Linked DNA regions of Homo sapiens: region 2 is linked to region 1. Evidence: promoter capture Hi-C in human tissues and cell types (Jung and others, 2019). All regions are on one chromosome and are shown on one strand. The core of a region is centred on a gene start or on the middle of the fragment in contact, and the rest is flanking DNA. Distances in the headings are between cores, read along the strand shown. Region 1 holds the start of SLC13A5 (solute carrier family 13 member 5). Region 2 overlaps LOC124903907 (a long non-coding RNA gene).

The links. Contacts are between HindIII fragments. The study calls those that stand out against the background at their distance.
Region 2: a contact is called between a fragment that was not itself captured here and the fragment with the promoter of SLC13A5 in region 1, in 2 of the 25 tissues and cell types used here (H1 embryonic stem cells and ovary).

Annotation. Positions count from the first base shown.
Region 1 is chr17:6,711,898-6,715,544 of GRCh38, reverse strand. It overlaps SLC13A5 (solute carrier family 13 member 5), which reads left to right and starts at 2,176. Exons shown (of 12, transcript NM_177550.5): 1 at 2,176-2,313. The coding sequence starts at 2,212. The HindIII fragment of the contact is 16,548 bases long and covers 1-3,647 here.
Region 2 is chr17:6,874,652-6,878,408 of GRCh38, reverse strand. LOC124903907 (a long non-coding RNA gene) reads left to right here. Exons shown (of 2, transcript XR_007065596.1): 2 at 1,522-3,189. It also overlaps the pseudogene ALOX12P2. Among named protein-coding and RNA genes, the nearest start is that of TEKT1, 45 kb to the right of the region's middle. The HindIII fragment of the contact is 3,980 bases long and covers 1-3,512 here.

The DNA of each region.
Region 1 (3,647 bases), core at 927-3,426:
AATGTCCGGTTGATAGCTGCAGCAAACCACCATGGCACATGTATACCTATGTAACAAACCTGCACATTCTGCACATGTATCCCAGAACTTAAAGTAAAATTAAAAAAAAAGAAAAGAAAAAAGAACTGAAGTTGTTTACTTGCTCTCATTCATGCATCCCGGAGAAAAAGGTTTGAGTGCACATCCTGGATTAGGCACTGAGAAAGGCACTAGCTGGACAGGTGGTGATGAATAAAACAGACAGTAAATAGAAATTACATCATAATAATGTGTCATATATTTTAAAATAGCTACAAGATATTTTAAATGTTCTCACCACAAAGAAATGACAAATATTTGGGCCAGACGCGGTGGCTCACGCCTGTAATCCCAGCACTTTGGGAGACCGAGGTGGGCGGATCACCTGAGGTCAGGAGTTCGAGACCAGCCTGGCTAACATGGTGAAACCCCATTTCTACTAAAAATGCAAAAAATTAGCCGGGCGTGGTGGTGCACACCTGTAATCCCAGCTACTTGGGAGGCTGAAGCAGGAGATTTGCTTGAACCTAGGTGGCAGAGGTTGCAGTGAGCCGAGATCGTGCCACTGCACTCCAGCCTGGGTGACAGGAGCACAACTCTGTCTCAAACAAACAAACAAAAAACAAAAACAAGAGAAATGATAAATATTCGAGTGATAAATATGCTCATTAGCCTGATTTGAACACACCACAATTATACACACATTGAAAAATCACATGGTACCCCGTAAATATAGACAATGATTTGTCAATTAAAAATGAAATAACACTTAAAAAATAAAAAAGTAAAAAGTAAAAATTACACCAATAAATATAAGAGGTACAAATTGTGCTAAGTGCCCTGGGGACACAGGAAAGGCGGGAAAACCCAGGGCTATATGCATGAGAGTTACAAAGGGAAAAGGACAGGAGGGAGGCAATTGCAGGAGGGGCTTGGGAGAATGCATGTCCTTGGGTGCAGGTCACAGGAAGGAACTCATGAGCTTGATTCAGGATGTGTTGAATTTTCGGGCCGAGACACGTCCAGTCTGCGGAAGGCTGGACATCTGGGACTCTGGCATCATGGCTGGGTTGAAGGCAGAGGATGGTAATCACTAAGGAGCCGGCTGTGGTTAGGCCACCAGCATGGATGAGACTCCCCAAAAGGAAGCTGCAGAATGAGAGGCAGGCAGAGGAGAGGAAAGAAGAAAATCACAGAGGTGGGGATGTCTTTGCATCCGTGTGTCTCCAGTGCCCAAAACAGGGCCTCGCGGAGAAGAGGTGCTCGGCACCTGTCTGTTGCCTGGCGGGCTGAATGAATACATGGGCGACTGTCTCAGTGTCGCCTTAGTTGTGTCCCTTCCTCTCTAGAGCTCCGTTTCCCTCTGACCTGGGTCGGGCGGGCAGCTGCGGCTGCTGAGGCTCGGTGGGGCCCCTCCAAGACGCGTGTCCGCATCTGCCCGCCGGGCGTCTGCGGGGTGCAGCGTCCACTGGAGCGCGACAGCCCCTGGGACAGAGGAGGACAGTGGCCTCGCTTCCCTGTGCGATCGCCCAGGAGCTCCGGGCCGGAGAGTGCGAGCGGGGAAAAGGGGTCCTGCACCTAGAGTGGGGCGGACGTGGCGAGGAAGCCAGGGGGGACCGGGAAGCGAGGCCCGCGGTGCGGAGGGCGCGGGGCGTGGGGGGACACCTCTCGGAGAGACACCGGAGGGGCGGAAGTAAGGAGATGGAAAGGAGAGGGAGATCGGGGAGATAGACCTGAGAGACCCAGAGGCCTGCAGAGAGTTTCATCCGGGACCCTTCAGAGCCCAGGAAAGAGCAGATGCGGACGCGGGAGGGCGCCTTACGCCAAAGCGGGCAGCACCAGTGACCAAAACACGCCCCGCTTGGCAGCCCCGGGACGCACCTCTGCCTCGGCAGCGCAGGAGAGGCTTGGACAGCGCGAGATGCTAGGGCCCAGGCTGCCCCTAGAGGGCTGGCCCGAAGCGTTGGAGTCCAAAGACGCCTCCCACCGCCGCCGGGTGGCAGAATTGGGGGCAGGCGCGTCCCACAGACCCCGAGGGGTGGCCCCGCCCCAGGGCCGCGGGGAGGCGCCCCCGTGCGGGGCGGAGTTGTCACCGCCCCCTCCCCAATCCCCGGGGACTGTGGCCCCTTCTTAAGCCCGCGGCGCCTCTAGCTGCCCCTCACTCGTCTCGCCCGCCAGTCTCCCTCCCGCGCGATGGCCTCGGCGCTGAGCTATGTCTCCAAGTTCAAGTCCTTCGTGATCTTGTTCGTCACCCCGCTCCTGCTGCTGCCACTCGTCATTCTGATGCCCGCCAAGGTCAGTTGCATCTCCAGGCAGCCCTTCGGACACCCGGCGTCCTGTGCCCACTAACGGGCACCGATCCCGGGAGCCCTGAGCTGGAGCGCACGGATTTCGCGGGGAGCACAGCTCTCCCGGGGCGCGCGCACTCAGGAGCTCCAGGTGCCGGATGGGAGGTGCCCTGTAAAGAATCTGAGGGGCATGGCGACCCCAGGGCGCACCACCCTTGGGGTTTACAGATCCCAGGGCGCAAGAGCCGTCCAGGCAAGCACGGAAACCTCGAAGTGAGCACAGATCTCAGCCACACAGATCCCAGCCTTAGGCTCAGCCCCTGGCTCCGAATCGAATCTCCCACAGTGCATAACCCTGTTTCCCCCCAAAATGCCACCTGCGCCAACAGGGAACCTGGGAGCTTGCCTTTCCCTCTCTCTCTCCTGTCTTTTCCCTTCGCCAAAGAAGACTTCAAGCTGTAGGTGGCTTCTGCCGTCAGGAGGGACCTACAGGAAAAAAATCATCACCCACGTGGATCCTGCGCTGTCTTTGCCACTCTCTGGCCCTTCCTTGGGCCTTAGTGTCTCTATCTATGATCCACATTCCTTCCAACCTGGAGAGCCACATCTGATTCATAATCCTGCTCCAGGCTGCAGGCAGGTTGGGGTTGGCCTGCTTTGCCTCCTGCCTGCTGGGGCTGTAGCAGGAGGCGGGACACATTCCCAGAGCTCGCGCCTTGGGTGGCAGGACCTGGAGTTGCAGGGAAGCTTCCTCCCAGGCCCTAGTCTCCTAATGCTTCTGTGAGGGAGAGAGAGAATGAATGGCCTTGGCCGCAGGGTGGGCGCAGGCTCCACTGGGCTGTGCACAGCCAGTTTGGCGGAGGCCCAAGCCCTTTGAAGCCTTTTGTGGCTGCTGGCTGCTCCTTCCTCGTTCCTTCTTTCAGCCCTTTCACTCTCAGCCCAGACAGGAAACCTCCAGCTCCCCACCTCCCCTCCCCAGGCAGGTTTGGGAAACAGAGGAGCTCTTCAGGGGATGCTCTGGGGGGGAGCTCTAGAGGAAGGGAGTGCACTGGGGTGTCAGGAAGCCAACCTGCAAGAGAACTGGACTTCCACCATTCTGTCATCTGTGTGACTTTAGCCAAGTGCCTGTGCTCTCTGGGCCTTGGTGTTCTCATCTGTACAATGGGGCTAGGTGGTTTGGTTCTGACACTTTAAGGCTTTGGGAATCAAAAGGGATTAACGTTAGTTCCTAGGATGGGGGAGGGGGAGACTGGGAGGAGCCCTTGGGTGGGCCTAGCACAGGCCCTGGATGGGTCAAGGACAGCAGATCCAACTGTGGAGGCTGTGCAGTTGCCACACCAA
Region 2 (3,757 bases), core at 273-2,772, 160 kb before region 1:
CAGCCAGGATTGCCTTCTCCTGCTATAATTCCAAAAAATTGGCCTTTGATAGTCAAAGATTTAAAAGACTGTTTCTTTACTATCCCTTTAGCTGAGCAAGACTGTGAACAGTTTGCATTTACAATTCCTGCAGTAAACAACCTGCAGCCTGCTAAGCGTATTCATTGGAAAGCGTATTCATTGGAAAGGGGCATGTTAAATAGCCCCACAATTTGCCTGACATATGTGGGGCAAGCAATTGAACCTACTCGTAAAAAGTTTTTACAGTGTTACATTATTCACTATATGGATGATATACTTTGTGCTGCCCCACTCGAGAAATATTACTCCAATGTTATGATCACTTGCAAAATTCGATTTCTTGCGTTAGTTTAATTATAGCTCCTGACAAAATTCAGACTACTACTCCTTATTCTTACTTGGGGACCTTAGTAAATGACACTACCATTGTGCCACAGAAAGTAACCATACTTAGGGATAAATTAAAAACATTAAATGATTTTCAAAAATTACCAGGGGATATTAATTGGATACGACCTGCTCTAGGCATTCCTACCTATGCCATGAGTAATCTGTTTTCTATCCTTAGAGGAAATCCTAGTCTCACTAGCCCTTGGCAATTAACAAACGAGGCAGAGGCAGAGTTACAACTGATTGAGAAGCAAGTCCATAAAGCTCAAATAAATAGAATAGATCCAGAGAAGACTCTAGATTTGCTAATTTTTTCAACTCAGCATTCACCCACTGGTGTTATTGTCCAAGAACAGGACTTAGTAAAATGGCTTTTTCTTCCACATACTAATTCATGGACTCTAACTCCTTATTTAGATCAAATCACTACTATAGGGAGTAGGAGAACTCAGATTGTTAAATTACATGGATATGATCCTAGAAAAATTATTGTCCCTCTCACGAAGGCACAAATACAGCAAGCTTTTATAAAAAGTCTTACTTGGCAAACCCATTTAGCTGACTTTGTGGGTATTCTCAATAATCATTTTCCTAAAATGAAGCTGTTTCAGTTTTTGAAATTAACTAATTGGATTCTCCCCAAAATAACTAAGTTTAAATCAATTGAAGGGGCTGAGAATGTTTTTACAGATGGGTCTAGTAATGGTAAAGCTTCTTATTTTGGCTCAAAAAGTAAAGTTTTCCAGACGTCCTATACTTCAGCTCAAAAAGCAGAGCTTGTAGTGGTAATTGAGGTATTGACTGCTTTTGATGTGCCTATTAATGTGATTTCTGATTCTTCATATGTGGTTCATTCCAACAGAGTTAATTAAAAATGCTCAGTTATGATTTCATACAGATACACAACTGATGACTTTATTTACCCAATTGCAAACAGCAGTTAGACGTAGAATGCACCCTTTTTACATCACTCACATTAGGGCTCATATACCTCTTCCAGGATCTTTGACTGAAGGGAATCAAATGGCTGATCGCCTAGTTGCTAATGCAATATCTAATGCTAGACACTCACAATTTAACCCATGTTAATGCCTCTGGTCTCAAACGCAGATACAGCATTACCTGAAAAGAAGATAACCTGGGGTAGAGGTTATGCTTGTGTTTCTCCAGGCCAAAATCAACAGCTGATCTGGATACCATCAATACACCTGAAACCTTAGCATAAGCCAGATTACAGGAGGATCCCGAGGACCCCCCAGTTGCAGCCATGTCAAGACTGATGCTGAGGAGGACCCCAATTGTCACGAGCAACACCCGTCAAACACAGCCACCCACCTGGGGACAGATCAAGAAGCTGTCACAGATGGCGGAAGAAAACCTGAGGAAAGCGGGACAACCAGTCACAATGAATAATTTAATGGTAGCTATGATAGCGGTTATCACCACTGCCATGAGTATTCCTTCAACAGGGGCTGACACAGAGAACAGTTATACTTATTGGGCATATTTATCAATCTTGGCCGGCAATAATGCCTGGATGCAATCACTCTGACACAGTTACACATGCTTTCTGATCTCAGTATTTACCATAATAAATCTGCTCATATAATTGAGGCATACCATCCTCAAAAACCTTTTTGTAAACAGGATTGGACCCAGTTAGAAAAAGATGAACGTACTTGTTTAGGAAGATTGCTTTGCAGAACAGACAGAGGTGCTGCACAATGATTCCTATGGAATCATTATTAATTGGTACCCTAAGGGGATGTTTAGCTTGAATTGCACCTCTCAGTCTGCGTGCCATGGCCACACTATGTTCAGATGATCTGAACAAAACGGTCAGATGGTAGAAATGATAAGAAGTATGGCAAAAGTTCCTATTATCTGGAACCGTGGCGGTATAGTGGCACCTCAACCTCAAATGATATGGCCTGCTCTAGAAGCTTAACATAAGGATTTGTGGAAACTATTAGATGTTCTTAATAAGATCAAAATTTGGGAAAGAATAAAAAGGCATCTAGAAGGACACTCTACAAACTTGTTTTTGGATATGGCAAAATTAAAAGAACAAATATTTAAAGCATCCCAGGCACACCTGACCTTAATGCCAGGAACTGGAGTCCTTAAAGGAGCTGCAGACAAATTAGCAGCTAGTAACCCATTAGAATGGATAAAAACACTTGGAAGCTCTGTATTTCAATGATGATTGTGCTTTTAATCCATGTTGTTTGTCTTTGTATAGTGTGCAGATGTGGATCCTGACTCCTGTGAGAAGTAGCTCACTGTGACAAAGCTGCCTTTGCTTTTATCTCTTTGCAAATCAAAGAAGGGAGACATGTTGGGAGCAGGCCCCCCCAAAATCTGGCCATAAACTGTCCCCAAAACTGGCCATAAACAAAATCTCTGCAGCACTGTAACATGTTCATAATGGCCCTTAACACCCAAGCTGGAAGGTTGTGGGTTTATTGGAATGAGGGCAAGGAACACCTGGCCCGCCCAGGATGGAAAACCACTTAAAGGCATTCTTAAGCCACACACAATAGCATGAGCAATCTGTGCCTTAGGGACATGCTCCTGCTGCAGTTAACTAACCCAACCTATTCCTTTAATCCGGCCCATCCCTTCGTTTCCCATAAGGGATACTTTTAGTTAATTTAACATCTATAGAAACAATGCTAATGACTGGTTTGCTGTTAATAAATACGTGGGTAAATCTCTGTTCGGGGGCTCTCAGCTCTGAAGGCTGTGAGACCCCTGATTTCCCACTCCACACCTCTATATTTCTGTGTGTGTGTCTTTAATTCCTCTAGTGCCACTGGGTTAGGGTCTCCCCGACCGAGCTGGTCTTGGCAAGAAAGAATGAGTAAGACCTATTATTTGCTAGCACAACAGGGTGACTATAGTAAAAAATAATTTAATTATACATTTTAAAATAACTAAAAGAGTATAATTGGATTTTTTGTAACATAAAGGATAAATGCTTTATCCTTTAGCAAAGATGGATACTCCATTCTGATGTGATTATTACGCATTGCATGCTTTATCAAAATATCTCATGTAACCCATAAGTATATATATCTACTATGTACCCACAAAAATTAATATTAAACTTGTCCAGGTGACTTTGGGAATTCCCATCCCATTCTCACCACTGCAAAGCCTTTAGGCAATAGGAAAATCCTCTAAATCAAAACAGTATTAAACCATATTCAGATAAGCCATTTTCTTTGAGTTGGACTTAAGAGTTTGAGACTGCCTCATGGGAAGCATCTCAGAGGATGAGATAATGGAGAAAGACTGGTGTAGTAGTTAAGGCCATAGGGTTTTGAGCTGAACACACTTCAGT